Regions from separate parts of the Homo sapiens genome. Here regions 1, 2, 3, 4 and 6 are each linked to region 5. The links are contacts of gene promoters, found by promoter capture Hi-C in blood cells and fetal thymus (Javierre and others, 2016). All regions are on one chromosome and are shown on one strand. Each heading gives the region's core, a stretch centred on a gene start or on the middle of the fragment in contact. The rest is flanking DNA. Distances are from core to core; before and after follow the strand shown.

Region 1 (2,904 bases), core at 345-2,844, 170 kb after region 5:
CTTCTGTGTCATTTACTGTTGCTGTCTAACAAAACCATCCCGAAACCTAGTGACTTAAAGGAACAATTCATTTCATTGTCTCTGATGGTTTCTGTGGGTCAGGAGTTCAGGAGGGCCTTGGCTGGGTGGTTCTGGCTTGGGGTCTCATACTATTGCAGTCAGATAGCTGAAGCTGGAACAGTGGGAGCCTGGAGCACCTGGGGGCTCAGTGGGCCTCCCTCTGTCCATGGAGTCTCAGGAAGTCTTCTGCACAGGGTGGCCTCGGGGCAGTTGAGTGGGCTCCAGGCCTGTGTGTTTAGCAGGCAGGGAGAAGCCGCGTTGTCTCTTGTGGGCTCACAAGTCATAGGGCATCATTTGTGCTGGGCTCTGATGATAAAAAGTTACAAAAGCTCCTCCGGTTCCAAGGCGGAGGGGACACAGCCCCCCCCCGCCCCACCACAAGTGGGAGGAGTGTCACAGTCACGCTGCAAGAGGAGCATGTGGGATGGGACTGCTTGTTATGGTCATTTTTGGAAAATATAATCTGCTTCGCCTTCTAAGTCACAACAGCAGTCGTCATTCCCCTGTGGAAAAATCTCTAGGGGCTCCAAAACCTTCACAGAAAAGTGGATTTTAAAGAATGTGGCACAGATGCCTTACCTATAAACTGGACAGGAGCAAAAAACTGCGGGGAGAAGTGAGATTCTGAGCCTAGCTCCTCGGGCCAGCATAGCTGCCCCCTGAGTAGTTTGGGTGTGATCTGGCTCTTGTGACAAGGCCCCAGTCACCTCCCCAGGCCATGCCCCATGGTTCCCCACCTCCTCCTCCACGCACCTGGCTCACCTCTCCTTAGCCTGCTGCACCTGCTGCCTGGAAAGGCACACCTGCTTATCCAGGGCTAACCTGCTCCTGTGGCCCCATTCTGAGACATCTTCTGGGGCTCCCTGCCCTACTTAGTGGGCACCTGTACTCTGACATTGACATTGTTGTAGATGGTGTGTTTACTCTACCAAACTTGGAGTGTAGGTACTGGTTACATCTCACTTGATGGTTTCCAAATCAGACTTTGCCCTGGAGTTTGCCTAGTAGGCCAAGTTTTCCTGTATGCAGATGATTTCATAATACCGTCGGATGTCTGAACACTGTAGCAGATATTTAGATGGTGGGGTTTTATTTGACTGATTTCTTATTCTGAAAAATTGTTTTAGTCCGTATTAATGGTGGTTTTATTTATTGCAGGGTGATTTAAGCAATTTTATGCTTTTTCTTTAAATCATGTGAAAACAGGAGGTGAAATATTTCTTATCTCAGTTTATATACCAAAATAAGAAAATAACACAAAAAACCCCCTAAACCTACCCCTTGGAGCCTTGCCAGCTTAAAATGGGGTAACTCCCCTCCTTATTATTTGACATCCTAACAAGGACTCTTCCTTGATTTTTTTTTTCCACACTGATTTTGACTGCACCATAAGCTCCATGAGGAGCAGAGACTTTTATGTTCACCACTCAGCATCAGAAACAGTGCTTGTTACCTAGGAAACACTCACATAATGATCAGATGATTAATTGAATGGACAGAGAATTCCAGAGGATAAGGAGAAATGGTCCTTCTTTTACTATTTACCTTTCCACCTGGAACACACCATTGGGTGGTGGAACTGGTGAAGCTCATTGTATGAAGGAGGTGCCTGGACCAGTCAGAGTTTTGAAGGAGCTGGCCTGTGGAGAGCTCTTAGCCACCAGGTGACAGTTTACTTCCCCTGACTGGCCTTCTGTTTATTTTGTAGCCATGTGAGGGAGGGAAGTCCTAGGAAAATAATTGACACAAAGAAGTACAAATCAGTGTATTGTGAACTGTGCCTTGTCTCTTTGTACCTTCTCTGTCTCATCATTGTACACACCACACGACCTTGTGGTTATTTGCTGTTTTATGGACAATTGGTTCCTTGAGGCTTGGGACTGGGTCTCATTTGTTGGGCCGGATTCAGGGCCTGGCCCAGGGTTGGCACTCAGTGCACAGTTGTTGAACTGTAGCCCAGTTGCTGGCCTGCAAGCGGCCAAATCCAGGATGATGGTCTTGTTTTGAAGGGTGTGGCGGTTAGGCATGTCTGCTCTCGCAGTAGGATAGAGGGCACTCCATCTAGAAGGAGTCTTAGAGTTCATCTGGGCCAAATCCCAGGCCACGAGGTTAAGTGAGCAGTCCAAAGCACACAGACGTCTAGTGACAGGGCATACCTTGGACCCTGGACTCCTGAGTCCTAAGCCCTCTCTTTACTTGCTCTTCCTTGTATTTTTTGACCTGCTCCGTTTCTGTCCTGGGCCGGTTCACCCCTCCTTAGGCAACCTGGTGGTTCCCTGCTCCCAGGAAGTCACCATATTGATGCCAAACTTAGTGCGGACACCTGATGGGCATAGCACACTACAACCCAGAACTCCTGGGCTTGAACGATCCTCCTGCCTCAGCTTCCCGAGTAGCCGGAACTACAGGCACGCACCACCACTCCCTGCATACTTGTAGTTTTTTCTATTACCTTTAAAAAAAGTTTAGATATCTGATAATCATAACTTAAGCATCACGTTGATGATGAATACCCTTGAACCTGCCATTCCATGTGAGACCTAGACAGTATAGCTTTCATCTTCCCCTCATGGCTTCCCTAGAACTGCTCTTCTACTCTTCTTAAATGTTGTATTTATCATACCTTTGTCTTGGCTTAAAGAAAAAAAAAAGCCTTGTTATATTAGTCTAAAACACGTGTCTAAATAATAAGAGTGTTCATGGCCAGGTGCAGTGGCTCACGCCTGCAAACCCAGCACTTTGGGAGGCTGAGGCAGATGGATCGCTTGAGCTCAGGACTTTGAGACCAGCCTGGGCAACATAGCAAAACCCCATCTCTACAAAAAATAGAAAAATTGGCTGGGC
Region 2 (2,919 bases), core at 115-2,614, 190 kb after region 5:
GGTTTCCATTCTGCAGAGATAAGGGTCATCTGACACCAGCTGCACAGTCCGCCCTGGTGAGGGTCTCTCCCCCTCCTCTTCCTGATTGCTTGCTAGGCACTTTTCTTCCTGCTTCTGCTCCCTGAATGAGGAGCTGACCCCGGTTATCATTGGGAAAGTCTTCGGAAGCCCTGGGAGAGAAAGCTAGACAAGAGCGTGGCTGGATGGTCTAAGGCGGCAGGAAGGAGTCTTAGGTTGATCTCAGTGTCCAAGGACAAGCCAGCCTTGCAGCCTCCCAGGTCATCAGACCCCTCAATCCTCAGCCTTCCAGAGGTGCCAGGTCACCTGTGAAACCTGGGTCCTCAGGATCCTTTCTGTCGGTTTCCCAGCTTCCTTGCCATTTACCCTCTTCCTTATCAGCACTGCTCACCTCTTGCTCCTCTTTCCTCTGAATCTCTTGTCCCCTTCTTGAACCTACATCTCTAGTCTCCCCCCAGGTACCCTTTTCCCCAGCTTGAGAGCCCCCCAGTCTATGTGTGAGGGTCCTACACAACCTCCCAGTGATGGGCCTCTGTTCTGTATCTCTGGGCCTCTCCTGGGACTGCTTTCTGGTGGGGAGGCTATTTTAGCAGCTCACCTGCTGCTACCTATTCATGACCCTGATGCAGAAAATGCTTGTGAGGTGCCACTAGCCAAGAAGCAGACCAAGGCTGGAAGTGGAGTCCTCATTTGTTTTGCAGACTTCCTTGGAAACAGATTGGCCATTTAGTGCCCCCTACCACACCTTTATATGCCAGGCCAGAGAAGCCTGTTTTGGTGTATTTGGGAATTCAAATTCTACAAAATTCTTGGTTAGGTGTTTCTAGGCTGTTAGTCTGAGGATGCCTGAAATGCTTGGTTAGGAGCATTGAAGTTGATAGTGGAGTGCCTTGAAATCGAAAGGCACAATCCTGTTCAGCTCTTGTCTTTACCACGTCTTAGCTGTGTGACCACTGAGCCTCAGTTTCCTCATCTGTGAGATGGGCATGACACTAACTTCAAGAATGAGAGATGGGGGGTGTAAAGCTTCTAGCATAGTACCTGGCTTGTAGTAGCTGTCTGCATGGAGTTCTGAGGTCATGTCAAACTTGCGCAAAATACTCTGCTGTTCTCCCGGGTTTTAAGAGATGACTATCGTGTGCCAGGTACTGTTCCAGACCCTTTGCTTATTTAAACTGCACACCACAAGGTTGATCTTTTATGCCCATTTTACAGATGAGGAAACCAAGTGAGGTTTCATGAGTTGGTCCAAGCCTCACAGCTAATTAGTAAGGAGCAGAGTTGGGATCTACCCGTCTGCAAAGCCTGTCTTCTCCGTCACGCTGTTTGTGCCCAAAGCTGCCCCAGGAGTAGCTTTCTCCTTGTCACTGCAGGTCACCAGAGGATGGCTGACTCTGAATGCAGCTGTCTTCACAATTCTTAGCACCGGCAAGAAGTTACTCAGTCTCCGTAGTGGGTAGCTTCCCCCTTCCCACGTTGAAAGGGCGTTCTGTTCTGGCCTCCTGTGGTTAAAGGTGCACTGCTGATGGAGACGGAAGCATCCGTGGTAACAAGCACAAGACCCCAACATCCCAGCTGCCAGCTGCCAAGCAGTAGTGCCGGGGGGAGGGGTGCGTTGGGTTCCAGTGCACCCAGAGGCTTTGCATTGCTTACATAAAGAAGCTTCAGAGCTTTAGAAGGGATGCGTGGGGGAGGAATAGTCCCGCCCTCCTCCTTTTTTGGGTCATTGGCCCTCACTGGGCCGGACACTTCTTATTCACTAATCAGACGGTTTGCGGTTGCCCTTTGCCACATCTGTGGCTGCCTTCCTGGGCCTGTCGAGCTCACAATTAAGGTTCATTAGAGACCCTGTCAGTCATAGCACGCACAGAGCCTGCCTGAGAGAGGCCTTGCCAAGGGGCTGGCCAGCCCCATGCCCCCACCAAAATGAGTCCCTTTGCAAATGACTGCCAACCAAATTCTAGAGGCTTTGTGTACAGGAGAGGGGGTGTGAGCAGCGCTTGTGAAGCTCCAGACTCTCGGGTCCTAATGGGCCCATTGCCTTTTATGTAATTGAAACCTTCAGGCGAGCTCTCGAATTGATGTTCCAGATGGTGGCGGCGGGAGTGCTGTCAGATGGACGCTTTGGAGGGATCATCTGACAGCCGGCCCCTCCGAAAAGAGATTTGGAGCCAAATGCAGAAGAGATTTAATGATCGTTAATCTCCCTCTCCCTCTTTCTGGAATATATTGGGACTCTTAATTACTATTGACTGGAAGCTAAAACAACACTCCTAGTTCAGAACAAAACTCTTCAGGAGATTTGCCCCAGGCTGAAAGGATTATCCTTCATACAAGGGGATTTTTTTTTTTTTTTTTTTTTTTTGCCTCTTTCTAGCTATGTGTTGAACATCAGTTGGGAGTAGAGGAGATATGTACATCAGGTGTTTTAAAGAGGCTTAATACTTCTTCGCCCGCATTGTTTTCCTGTCTCATTGACCTTCCTAGTCCCAAACGCTGCCTGTAGGGGCAGCCAAATCTCCACGTTTTATCTAACGCACTGAAAGCACTGCTGTGTGCTGTAACTGTACTCTTAGCACTGGAGGGCCCTCTGGCTTCCGAGCACCTGCGGGATGCCATGATGCTCACCTCTATCCCCAGACCCTAACACAGTGCCTGGCCACATGTCGATATGGCCACAAATAAATATGAGATAATGAACCAAAAACCCTGCTATCCCCAAATTCTGAGGGGAGTCCACATTAGACATTCTAGGCTGTGTGATCTGAGACCCAGAGATGAGAAGGGACGGATGCCTCTTGGAGCTGAGCTATGACTCAGGAGACCTCAGCCCCTGGGACTCAAGGGCTGGTGGTCCCGGCAGGTGGCAGTATATGGACAGAGTCTTTAAGGTCACGGAGT
Region 3 (2,759 bases), core at 203-2,702, 130 kb after region 5:
TGAAAAACGTTGCAGCTCAGGAACATTTTGTCTTCACGTGTGCTGCTTGTTTTTGTTTGGGTTTCAGCTCTCACTGTTTATTAGCCAAGGAAGCAGCCTGGTCTAGTGCAAAGAGTAAGGGCTTTGGAGCTAGGCAGGACCTTGAATAGCTCCATGCATCTGGCTCTGCCTCCCCAGTGTGGGAGTGAAAGACCCTCCTGGCGGAGCTGTGGAGCTGGTGGAGTAGGCCAGGAGCACAGATTCACCTCTGAGTCTGATCCTCCACCCACCACACCTCAGCCTAAGTGCGTGCAGTGATTAGTGTCGCCTCTGTCCCAATAAAAGGGTTGTCCTTGGTCATGGATGGTAGCTGGGCTCCTGGGGCCAGACTGCCTGGGTTTAAATCTTTGTTCCCTTACACTTTTAGCTGTGTAGCCTTGGGCTTCACTTAACTCTCTGGGACTGGTTCCTTGTCATAGGATCGATTTGAGGCTAATTAAATGAGGTCAAGCAGGTAAGAAGGCCTGTCATACCTAGCACATATAGGGCTCCGTACATGTTGTTGGTCTTATCACTGTTAATGAGTTAATGCACGTCAAATGAGTCGTAGCACCTGGGACATAGTAAGTGCCCAATAAATGGTAGCTCTTGTCTTTATCACATGAGCCCAGAGGCCCAGGACAGGAGGCACTGGCTTCTGGGAGGAGAGGAGATAGATGGTTTTCTACATTCAGCTCTGGTTAGATCCAGAGGTTTTCATTCTCCCCACCCTCTAAGCTTTTGGTGCCTATATCCCTGACCAACAGGAACCCAGCAATGGACCACACCACTTCTACCTGAGCCATTGCACAGAGTCACCTCTGCAGTTGGCTTTGAAAGAATTAGAGCTCAAGTTTGGAATAGGCAATTCAGTCACAGGTTTCAAAAATAAAAATATATACATTGTCTTAGTCTGTTTGGGCTCCTGGAACAAATACCTTAAACTGAATAATTTGTACACAACAGAAATTGATTACTCACAGTTCTGAAGGCTGGGAAGTCCGTAAGCAAGGTCTTGGCAGACTCAGTGTTTGGCAAAGGCTTGTTCTCTGCATCATAGACAGCGCCTCACATGGTGGAAGGGGCTGGCCAGCTCCCCTGGGCCTCTTATAGGGGCATTAATGTCATTCATGAAGGTGGGGCCCTCATGATCTAATCACCTCTTAAAGGCCTCACCTCTTAACTCTGGCATTGGGGATTATGTTTCAGCATATGAATTTTGAGGGGGTACCAGCATTCAGACCACAACACACATAAAACACTGCCTTCTCTTCTCACATGCCCAGTGTCTTCCACTCTCCCCTGCCAACCACAGCTAAGATTTCTAGGGTCTTCTTTTTTTTGTTTTTAATCAGGGTATTATTTGCAAGTAATAAAATTAACCAGCTTTAAGTGTACAGTTTGAGTTTTGGTACTAATCATGTTGCCACCACCACAATCGAGTTATAGAACAGTTTCCTCACCCTAAAAAGTCCCTTCATGCCCCTTTGGCCCTTTTCCCCCTCCTAGACAGCCTTGTTCCCCATCCCTAGACAACCACTGATCTGCTTTGTCACCGCGGTTTTGCCTTTTCTATAATTGTAAATAAATGGAAGCAGATAGTATGGAGTCTTTTGTGTTTGACCTCTTTCGTGTAACATGATTTATTTGATTCATTCATGTTGCATGTATTAATATTTCCTTTTCTTGCTGTAGAGCATTCCATAGTATTCCATGGTATGGACGTACCATTCAGCAGTTGATGAACATTTGGGTTGCCTCCAGTTTTTGGATGTTGAGAGTAAATCTGTTATAAATCTTCACAGATAGGGCCGGGTGCGGTGGCTTACACCTGTAATCCCAGCATTTTGGGAGGCCGAGGCGGGTGGATCACGAGGTCAAGAGATCGAGACCATCCTGGCTAACAACGGTGAAACCCCGTCTCTACTAGAAATACAAAAAATTAGCCGGGCATGGTGGCGGGCACCTGTAGTCCCAGCTACTCGGGAGGCTGAGGCAGGAGAATGGCGTGAACCCGGGAGGTGGAGCTTGCAGTGAGCCGAGATTGCACCACTGCACTCCAGCCTGGGCGACAGAGCGAGACTCCATCTCAAAAAAAAAAAAAAAAAAAATCTTCAGAGATAAGCTTTTATGTGGACTTTTTCTTTTTCGGTTTTCTTTCTTCCTTTCCTCCTTTGCTCCTCTCTTTCTTTTCTCTTTTCTTTCTTCCCTTTTTCGACAGAGTCTTGCTCTGTTGCCCAGGCTGGAGTGCAGTGGCATGATCTTGGCTCACTACAACCTCTGTCTCCCAGGTTAAAGCAATTCTCCTGCCTCAGCCTCCTGAGTAGCTGAGATTACAGGTGTGCACCACCACATCCAGCTAATTTTTTTTTTTTTTTTTGTATTTTTAGTAGAGATAGGGGTTCACCATGTTGGCCCGGCTCAAACTCCTGGTCTCAAGTGATCTGCCCACCTTGACCTTCCAAAATGTTGGGATTACAGGCATAAGCCACCGTGCCTGGCCTGCTGTCCTCATTTCTTTAGGCATAACAAGCAAATACAAATATATTTCATTTCTCCTCTTTTTAACATAGAGGGTGAAATATTATCCACGTTTCTCCACCCTGTGTGCTTTGAAAGGGCCTCACCTCCAGATGAGAAGATGCATATGAAGTCTTTATAACTTGGCCATGTGTTCTAGTGTCCCAGGAGCTAAGGGTGCCAAGTGGTCTTCCTGGCTCCTGGAGTGTGTACCAGCCTCC
Region 4 (2,700 bases), core at 144-2,643, 230 kb after region 5:
GTCCCTAAAGAGTGGATCTAGACAGGCTTGCATGTTGCCCCCTGTCCTGGGGTTCCCTTTCATCTGGCATCCCAAGGCTGCAGGCCAGTGTCTGGTTGCTTGGCATGTGCAGTCTGATTTTCATCTGCTGAAAGAAAGTTAAATGGAAAACAGGAGTGTGCAGAAAACAAGTTTGCTTATGAACATGATCCCCACGTCAGCATCAGGGACTCTGATGCCTCTAGAATTCTTGGGTTCCTCTAACCAGATGGCACACAGTCACTCTTTGGTTTGGGCCGTTGCACATGTTGGAGTGAAACTCTGCTGCTGGAAGCAGGGACCAGCTCCCTCCCTTGGTCAAGCTCCCCCATCCTGCCAGAGACCCTGCACTCCCCTCACTGAGATGTTTCCGAGGCTTCTGTGATGGAAAACTGCTTTGTGCAAGTATCAAGAATAGGTGCGGTGGGGCACAGTGGCTCACACCTGTAATCTCAGTGTCTGGGGGCTGAGGTGGGAGCATCACTTGAGCCCAGAAGGTGGAGGCTGCAGTGAACTATGGTCCCACCACCACACTTCTGCCTGGGTGACAGAGAGAGACCCCATGTCTAATTAAAAAAAAAAAAAAAAAAGGCATTCTTGCAGTGACCCAGCCAGCAGCCCCAGCTGCCTCAGTGAGGCAGAGAACCCTCCAAAATCCCCAGTACAGGGTGCTCGGGGCATGTCCCGGATTCCTGGTCACCCAGCGGGTTCCTTTTTTAACTCGGACTCTCTCCACCGTTTTTTTTTTTTTTTTTTTCCAAGAAAAAAAATGGAGACGGGGGCTCTCACTCTGTTGCCCAGGCTGGTCTCAAACTCCTGGCCTCAAGTGATCCTCCCATCTTGGCCTCCCAAAGTGCTGGGGATTACAGGCATGAGCCACTGCACTTGGCCTGACTTTCTCCTCTTTGGGGCAGCTGTGTGTTCAGTGGTGTGGCTTCATACGGGCATCTAACCTACTGGCTGACCCTGTTCTGTCCGCCTGCGCTCCATCCCACCACAGCTGGCACGTCTCAGGATGGCCAGGCAGCCTGGCATGGGGCAGAATATGGGCACTGGGGCCAGCCAAGCCTGACATCTACTCCCAGATCCCTGCTTCTCAGCCTGTGACTTGGGCACGTTCCTTATCTCTCTGGGTTACAGTTTTCTTAACTGTAAAAAAAAGATATGCAAAGCCCCTGACACAGAATGAGTTCTCAACAATGGCAGCTTTGGATGAGAGTGATGACTTGGAAGCCCAGAAAGCCCTGACTGTTGACGGCTCATGAGGTAGCTCCATGGGGCCAGCAGTGTTTTCACAAGTAGTCCAGAGGGCAGAAGACAGTCGCAGTGGTGCCAAGTGTGGACAGTTTGGCCAGATCCCAAAACCAGATCCCAGAGCCAGATAGCCGGCCCCTGCAGCGGCACCATTGTTTCCAGAGAGGCCTTCATTATTTCTTTAAGTAAAAAAATAAAAGCCTCGTAAAAGCGAGACACTAAAGCGCGGCAGCCACAGTCCAGATGTGCCTTCTAAGTGCAGCTGGCATTAAAGTCGCACATGCCTAAGCTGATTGGTATGTTGACTCGGGGGATTGTTGCACCTGTGTGTACTGGAAGGAATTTCCGCTGAATACCTGTCCCGTGTCCATGGGCAGCCTCTGGGCCGTGTTCCCTAAACCATGGTGAAAACAGCTGGTCTCAACACACAAACAAGGGTGGTTGAGTTTCAGCATCAGCTCTGGACATGGCCCGCCCAAAGCCAAGCATTGATCTTTCTCCATTTTGTGTGGAGCCTGTGCCAGTGGGTACGGAACCGCTCCCAGTAAGCGGCACTTTGTGTTTCTGACGGACACTTCCAGGGCAGCTCACAACACGTCGAGGTTGCCTTCTCCTCCCCTCTGTTCAGAAAGTAAGAGCCTGATGAAAACCAGCAGCCACCACTTGTTGAGTGCTTGCTCTGCCAGGTGCCATGGCAAGTGCTTGCCCGTTCATTTTTTTCTTGTGATCTTCCTTATATCTCCTCATGCTTGTTTGCCAGATGCATCTTGAGTGCAGGCTGGTATAACCAGTGTAAGGAAGAGAACCCACACTCTCCAGCCCCTCGTGTGCCGTCTGCAGCTCTCTGGACTTTGCAACATTGTGCCCACTGGGCAGCACCCACGCCCATCCATTGGACAGGGGATGCGCTCAGCTTCTTTTTGAAGTTGGCTAGATGGCAGCCAGCAGAGCAAAAAGGAACGTTGGTCTACACCACGAGGAAGGGAGCCAGGTTTTGGATGCCCCTCTGAGCAGAATGGACAGTTTTCTCTTTTTCCTGAGGTGGAGTTGGATTGTTCCCACCTGTGAAGACCAGGTGCCTGTTTTGTTGTAAGGATGTTAAGGATGATCAGAAAAACAAACTACTGCTGATAGCTGGGGATTTTAGTTTCTTTTTTACCCTAGGAGGGAACAAAAAGGCATTGTTTTAGGGCCAGAACCTCAGCTGCCGGGGAATGGCTCTGCCTCTGGGTTTTATTCTCTTCCTCTTTGCCATAAAATCAGTCATGGAGCTTGGGAGTTTCTGTTTGTTTGTTGTTGTTGTTTCTTTTGAGATGGAGTCTCGCTCTTTTTGCTCAGGCTGGAGTGCAGTGGCGCCATCTCAAGGCACTATAACCTCTGCCTCCCGGGTTCAAGCAATTCTCCTGTCTCAGCCTCCTGAGTAACTGG
Region 5 (2,700 bases), core at 60-2,559:
CTCAACAATTTTTATTAAGCACTCTTTTAGGGGCTGGGGATGGGGCAGTGACTAAACCAGAAAACATCCCTGCTCTCATGGAGCTTACAATCTTATTCCTCAATGTTTTCATTCAAAGACACAATCCTAAATCCTCTTAAATACCCTAAGATTACCACACAAAAATATCACATTTGGGTAACAAAAATTAGCATCGAAGAAGGAACATGGGACTTGACCCCAGAAAAGCTGGGTAAAATCCCTAATTTTGCCATTTGTTAGCTGTGACCGTGGGCAAATTCCTTCACCTGACTCTCCATTTCACGGCCTGTAAAAAGATTATTTCGCACAATGAAGACAATATACGCTCAATAAACGAGTTTCCTTTCTCCTCCCCACCATACAGTGACTTCATAATTTGTGCCGTCACTGAGCACGTGTTAAAGGACTACGCAGAAAAACTTAACGTGAACAACTTCTTACTTTCCAGCGCAATTCTCATTCCAGATCATCACCCCTCTAAGTTCAGGCCCCAGACTACTCTGATTCAAATAAATCAGGTGGCAAGTCGGGAATGACAGCAACTCGCATCAGGGCCTGGCGGTGTCTATGAAATGCTCCAGGTGACCTTCTCCAGAAGGCACTTTGGTTTCCGCCGGGGAGCAGCGTGGCCTCCTGAGCCGGTTCCCCGCCGCGTGCCGGGGAATGCACCACCCGGGAGGAGAACCCCGCGGCTCCGGCACGAGGGTGTGCCCCGACACTGTCTTCCACTCAAGAGCTCTGCGACTCTCCTGCCACCTGCCAACCCCGACCACCTCCTCCGGGCTGCAACTCCACCCCGCACCCGGGCTGCTGCTCCGGCTCCTCGGGTCTGTGCCCGCCGCCCGAGTGACCTCCCGCCGGGGCCCGGGCGGCTCGCCCTGGCCGGAGGGGCCGGAAAAGGCCGAGAGGCCTGACCTCCCGTGGGGCTTCCCTTCCTTCCTCCTGGGCAGCGCAGCCTGGAGCCAGCAGCTCTGCACCGGCCGGGCCTGCTGGGGCGAAAAGCCCCTTACCTATCTTCACGACCGCATCCGCCAGACACCGGTCCCACTTCCTGCCGAGCTCCGACTCAGACATGTTCCCCACCCGCGCCTCCAGCTTTCCTCTCGGCCGGCCCCCGCGCTCCGACCCCTGAAAGTCTCGCGAGAGCTGGAAACAAGTCCCAGGTCAGGAAGGCAGGCGCAGACGCTCCAGATATCGCGAGATGATCCGCTGCTTCCATCCCTTCCGGTTTTTTCAGTTGGTCGTCAAGGTGACGAGTTGTCTGGAGGCTCGAGGTGACCCTGACCTTGGGGCTGCGCCTATGGGTTTGCGAGGCTGACAGTTTCCTAGGCGTCACCCCAAGCCGTGACCAGGCCTTTCCTCCTCACCAAAGTGCGACATTGGCCCTGGAAATCCCCCGGGCAAGAGAGGGTACAGACTTGATTTATTCATTCATTAACGTACTCACCTTCACTTTCCCTACTCACTCTCTCATTCGTTCACTGGTTTCTTGCATTGGAATTCCCGCCTGAACCACTAACACCGAAACTGCTCTGGGAAAGATTACCTACCGCCAAATCAAATGGACTCTTTTCTGACCTCTGTACCGCATTCCACACAATTTTCCCTCCCTCTGATCCTCCCTGGCTCCTCTATTCGTTTCACTCCCGGTAACGCCACTCTTTCCTCTTCTCCCCATCTGCTGTTGTCTGTTGGTTTCCTCCAGGGCTGCCTTTTCTCTGCCAGCTGTTTAAGGACTGTTGGTTCGCAAGCTTCCATCAATTCTCTTTTCACTGTACAGACTCTCCCTGAGTAATTGCAAACACTGCCAAATTATATCTCCAGGTAAAACGTCTACCTCAGGCCTCCTATCCATGTATATATTTACACACCCACCCACACACACACACACATACACATACATACACAGGGTGCCCTCTGTATCTGTGGGTTTTGCATCCATGGATTTAACCAACCATGGACCAGAAACATTTTTGAATCAAATAAAAAATAATGCAAAATTTAAAATACAGTACAACTATTTACCTAGGATTTACATTGTATTAGGTATTATAAGTAACCTAGAGATGATTTAAAGTATATGGGAGCCAGCGCAGTGGCATGCGACCGTAGTCCCAGCTACTTGGGAGGCTGAGATGGGAGGATTGCTTGAGACTAGGAGTTCGACTTCATCTCTTTAAAAAAAAATAAGTAATTTTAAAAAAGGATATGTAAGCATGTGTGTAGGTTGTATGCAAATACCACGCCATTTTATATATGGGACTTGAGCATCCTGCATTTTGGTAACTGCGAGATCCTGAAACCAAATGCCCACAGCTATCAAGAGAGATTGTATATCCAGCCTACTGGCTAGTGTCATTGATTTTAGTCTTCCATCCTACCAACAAATAGAAATCTGACCACGTTATGCCTCTGATTAGAAGCTGTCAATGAAGGCCGAGAGCAGTGGCTCACACCTGTAATCCCAACACTCTGGGAGGCTGAGGCGGGAGGATTGTTTGAGGCCAGTAGTTCAAGACCAGCCTAGGCAGCATAGTGAGACTCCTGTCTCTACAAAAAATTTAAAAAATTAGCCAGGCTAATGTGATGTGTGCCTTTAGTCCCAGCTACTTAGGAGGCTGAGGTAGGAGGATCACTTGAGCCTGGGAAGTGGAGGCTACACTGAGCCATGTTCATGCC
Region 6 (2,700 bases), core at 86-2,585, 210 kb after region 5:
ATTACCTTTTGTGTGACTACAACAGAGATGGGGACTCCTATAGGTGAGCTCATGCCCCGGGGATGCAGCAGGCACAGCAGGCACACGCGGGCTGCCGTAGGTACCTGCTGCAGAGCACGGGGACCTTGGACTTGGGCAGCTGGCAGCCCATTCAGCTTTCCTTCCGTTTGTTCCCTGCCCTCCTCTCCTTTCTTCTCTTGTCCTCCCCATTCTTCTCATCGTTCCATCTGTTATTCCAATCATGCAGCAGACGTTTGAAGAGTGCCACCCACAAGCATGAGAGATAGAGCAGCGGACCAAAGGCCCCCTGCCTTCATGGATCTTCCAGTCTAACGGGAGAGGGATGTTGTTCAAAAACAACTGTTCTATTATAATTGCATTCAGTCCTGCGGAGGGCAGTGTACAGGGTGCGCATATGATGGGGATCCTGAGGGCTGGGAGGGTCTCTGTGGTAAGGGATCTACGAACGCAGCTCTGTCAGATACACAACTCTCCTCTCTCTTTCCGTCACCTCGCCCAAGGCTGTAAATAACTAAGTTGACATTAGTCCCTGCCCTGGGTGTCTGATCACCAGGTCTAGCATAGGAGACACATTGGGTAACTGGTAACTGTATGATGTGATTCATACAGCCAGTGCAAAGTCTGTTCAGGGTGGGACGGTAGCACAGAAGAGGCCATGGTCAACTCCAGGAGGACTTCCTGAAGGAGGTGATGTCTGAGCTGGGTTTTAAGGGCATGTAGGAGTTATACCTCTATTTTTTAAGAGTGGGAATCCTTAAACTGGCCCAGTGTTTCCATGATGAATTGCAGTAGTCACTGCCTTGGAGAATGGTAGAGGAACACAGCCTGCTTTAGGTTTATTTGGAGACCACAGAACCAGGGTTGTCTTGAAGCTTCACCCTGATGCTCTCTTTGGAGATGGGGCAAGGCTTCTGGGAAGTCAAAGCAGGAAAAATGATCAGGAGTCAGCCAGTGTGGGCTTCAAACCAGCACAGCTCCCTGTGTCAATGGGACTTTGACAAATCACTTATTGTCGCTGGTCTTTTAGTTTTGTCATCTGTAAAACGGAAATAGTAGTGTTTCTTTACTCAACAGAATGCTTCCTGAAGAAAATAAAGAGGACAGTGGGAGGGAGGGAGAGGACGGGCAGGCAGGGAAGGCTCTCCCACAAGTGGGAACTGGAGGATGAAAAGGTCCAGGTCTGGGGAAGAGCCTGCTGGGTGCTGAGGCCCTGGGTGATGAGCTCACCAGGATGGAGCTGGCAGAAGGCCAGAGGTGGAGAAGGCAGTGAGGGGAGGGCAGTGGGGGCGGAGATGAGGGAGGAGGCATGGCCAGGGCAGGTCTGGCAGGGTCTTGAAGGCCAGGCTGAGGGTAATAAAAGTTAGCACAGGGTTATTTATTGGGGGGATAAAAGAAGTAACACACGTGAAATGTTGAATGGCACAGACATTGTCATATACTTAAAAAGTTTAATACTGACTTATAAGAGACTAGACAACAGTTTTATAATCATGTCCCTTTCCTGGCTTTAAATGGAAATTAGGTAGAGATTATATTTTGCCCTCCTTCAGACCACAGACTAGAGTTGAAATGGTGAGAAGTGGTGAGATTTGAGGTCACTTTTAAAAGTAGAGCCAGCGGCCTCTGCAGGTAGGTGGGGATGGAAGAAGAGGAGGTGGGGTGTGAAGGGTGATTACAAGGCTTCGGACCTGAGCCACTGTTGATTGAGGTGAGGAGGACTCGGGGAGGAGCAGGCATAGGGACACTTTAAGCTTGAGAGGCCCATTAGATCAAAGTGGAGATACCAGGTAGGCTGTGGATGTACCATGTGGAGTTCCAGGAGAGAGGTTTAGGCTGGGGATGTGGCTGCAGATGTCCCAGCATATAGATGGTGATACAGCCCTGAGGCCGATCAAATTCATCCTTGAAGGGCTCATTCTGTGCCTGGAACTGCTGGTCACAGCATGGCGTCCAGGTGCTGTCCTTGGGAGCATCTTGCTCTGTCGCCCAGGCTGTAGTGCAGTGATGCGAACATGGCCCCCTGCACAAGACCATAGGCATGTATCACCATGCCCAGCTAATTTTTTTTTTTTTTTTTTTTGAGACAGAGTCTCACTCTGTTGTCCAGGTTGGAGTGCAGTGGCACGATCTCAGCTCACTGCAACCTCTGTCTCCTGGGTTCAAGCAGATTCTCCTGCCTCAGCCTCCCAAGTAGCTGGGATTACGGGTGTACGCCATCGCTCCCAGCTAGTCTTTGTATTTTCAGTGCAGACAGGGTTTCACCACGTTGGCCAGGCTGGTCTTGAACTCCTGACCTCAAATGATCCTCCTGCCTTGGCTTCCCAAAATGTCAGGATTATAGGCATGAGCCACTGCGCCCAGCCCCAGCTAATTTTTTTGACTTTTTCTCTCTCCTTTTTTTTTTTTTTTTGTAGAGATGGGGGCCTCATTTTGTTGCCCAGGCTGGCCTCGAACTCCTAGGTTCAAGCAGTCCTCCCACTTCAGCTTCCCAAATTGCTAGGATTACAGGTGTGAGCCACATTGCCCAGCCAGGGAGCCACTGATGAAGTGGGTGGACCAGCCCTTAGAGAGAGAAGTCCAGTGAAGATGGTGAGTGGTCTGACAGACCAGGGAGCAGGCAGGGAGAAGTATTCTCGCCCGGCATGCAGTTCAGGGAACGCTTCCTGGAGGAGGTGTTCC

Evidence for each region. Contacts are between HindIII fragments. The CHiCAGO score rates a contact against its expected background, and 5 or more counts as called.
Region 1: a fragment that was not itself captured here is called in contact with the fragment with the promoter of MICOS10-DT in region 5 in 13 of 17 cell types (naive CD8 T cells, non-activated CD4 T cells, activated CD4 T cells and 10 more); the score reaches 14.8 in naive CD8 T cells.
Region 2: a contact is called between a fragment that was not itself captured here and the fragment with the promoter of MICOS10-DT in region 5, in 10 of 17 cell types (fetal thymus, naive CD8 T cells, non-activated CD4 T cells and 7 more). The highest score is 10.7, in fetal thymus.
Region 3: a fragment that was not itself captured here is called in contact with the fragment with the promoter of MICOS10-DT in region 5 in 1 of 17 cell types (naive CD4 T cells); the score reaches 6.3 in naive CD4 T cells.
Region 4: a fragment that was not itself captured here is called in contact with the fragment with the promoter of MICOS10-DT in region 5 in 10 of 17 cell types (naive CD8 T cells, total CD8 T cells, non-activated CD4 T cells and 7 more); the score reaches 8.5 in naive CD8 T cells.
Region 6: a contact is called between a fragment that was not itself captured here and the fragment with the promoter of MICOS10-DT in region 5, in 15 of 17 cell types (naive CD8 T cells, activated CD4 T cells, naive B cells and 12 more). The highest score is 14.1, in naive CD8 T cells.

Annotation. Positions count from the first base shown.
Region 1 is chr1:19,423,969-19,426,872 of GRCh38, reverse strand. All of the region lies in intron 1 of CAPZB (capping actin protein of muscle Z-line subunit beta), which reads left to right. It also overlaps the pseudogene RN7SL277P. Among named protein-coding and RNA genes, the nearest start is that of CAPZB, 60 kb to the left of the region's middle. The HindIII fragment of the contact is 4,048 bases long and covers 1-2,904 here.
Region 2 is chr1:19,405,006-19,407,924 of GRCh38, reverse strand. All of the region lies in intron 2 of CAPZB (capping actin protein of muscle Z-line subunit beta), which reads left to right. Among named protein-coding and RNA genes, the nearest start is that of CAPZB, 79 kb to the left of the region's middle. The HindIII fragment of the contact is 636 bases long and covers 1,047-1,682 here.
Region 3 is chr1:19,463,660-19,466,418 of GRCh38, reverse strand. All of the region lies in intron 1 of CAPZB (capping actin protein of muscle Z-line subunit beta), which reads left to right. Among named protein-coding and RNA genes, the nearest start is that of CAPZB, 20 kb to the left of the region's middle. The HindIII fragment of the contact is 1,387 bases long and covers 759-2,145 here.
Region 4 is chr1:19,366,571-19,369,270 of GRCh38, reverse strand. All of the region lies in intron 4 of CAPZB (capping actin protein of muscle Z-line subunit beta), which reads left to right. Among named protein-coding and RNA genes, the nearest start is that of SLC66A1, 56 kb to the right of the region's middle. The HindIII fragment of the contact is 8,481 bases long and covers 1-2,700 here.
Region 5 is chr1:19,595,441-19,598,140 of GRCh38, reverse strand. It overlaps MICOS10-DT (MICOS10 divergent transcript), which reads left to right and starts at 1,309. Exons shown (of 2, transcript NR_135054.1): 1 at 1,309-1,431. MICOS10-NBL1 (MICOS10-NBL1 readthrough) reads right to left here and starts at 1,162. Exons shown (of 4, transcript NM_001204089.2): 1 at 1,032-1,162. It overlaps MICOS10 (mitochondrial contact site and cristae organizing system subunit 10), which reads right to left and starts at 1,162. Exons shown (of 4, transcript NM_001032363.4): 1 at 1,032-1,162. The coding sequence starts at 1,095. RefSeq lists a silencer at 740-949 and an enhancer at 1,070-1,369. The HindIII fragment of the contact is 2,967 bases long and covers 1-1,774 here.
Region 6 is chr1:19,382,848-19,385,547 of GRCh38, reverse strand. It overlaps CAPZB (capping actin protein of muscle Z-line subunit beta), which reads left to right. Exons shown (of 9, transcript NM_004930.5): 3 at 1-43. Among named protein-coding and RNA genes, the nearest start is that of SLC66A1, 72 kb to the right of the region's middle. The HindIII fragment of the contact is 879 bases long and covers 896-1,774 here.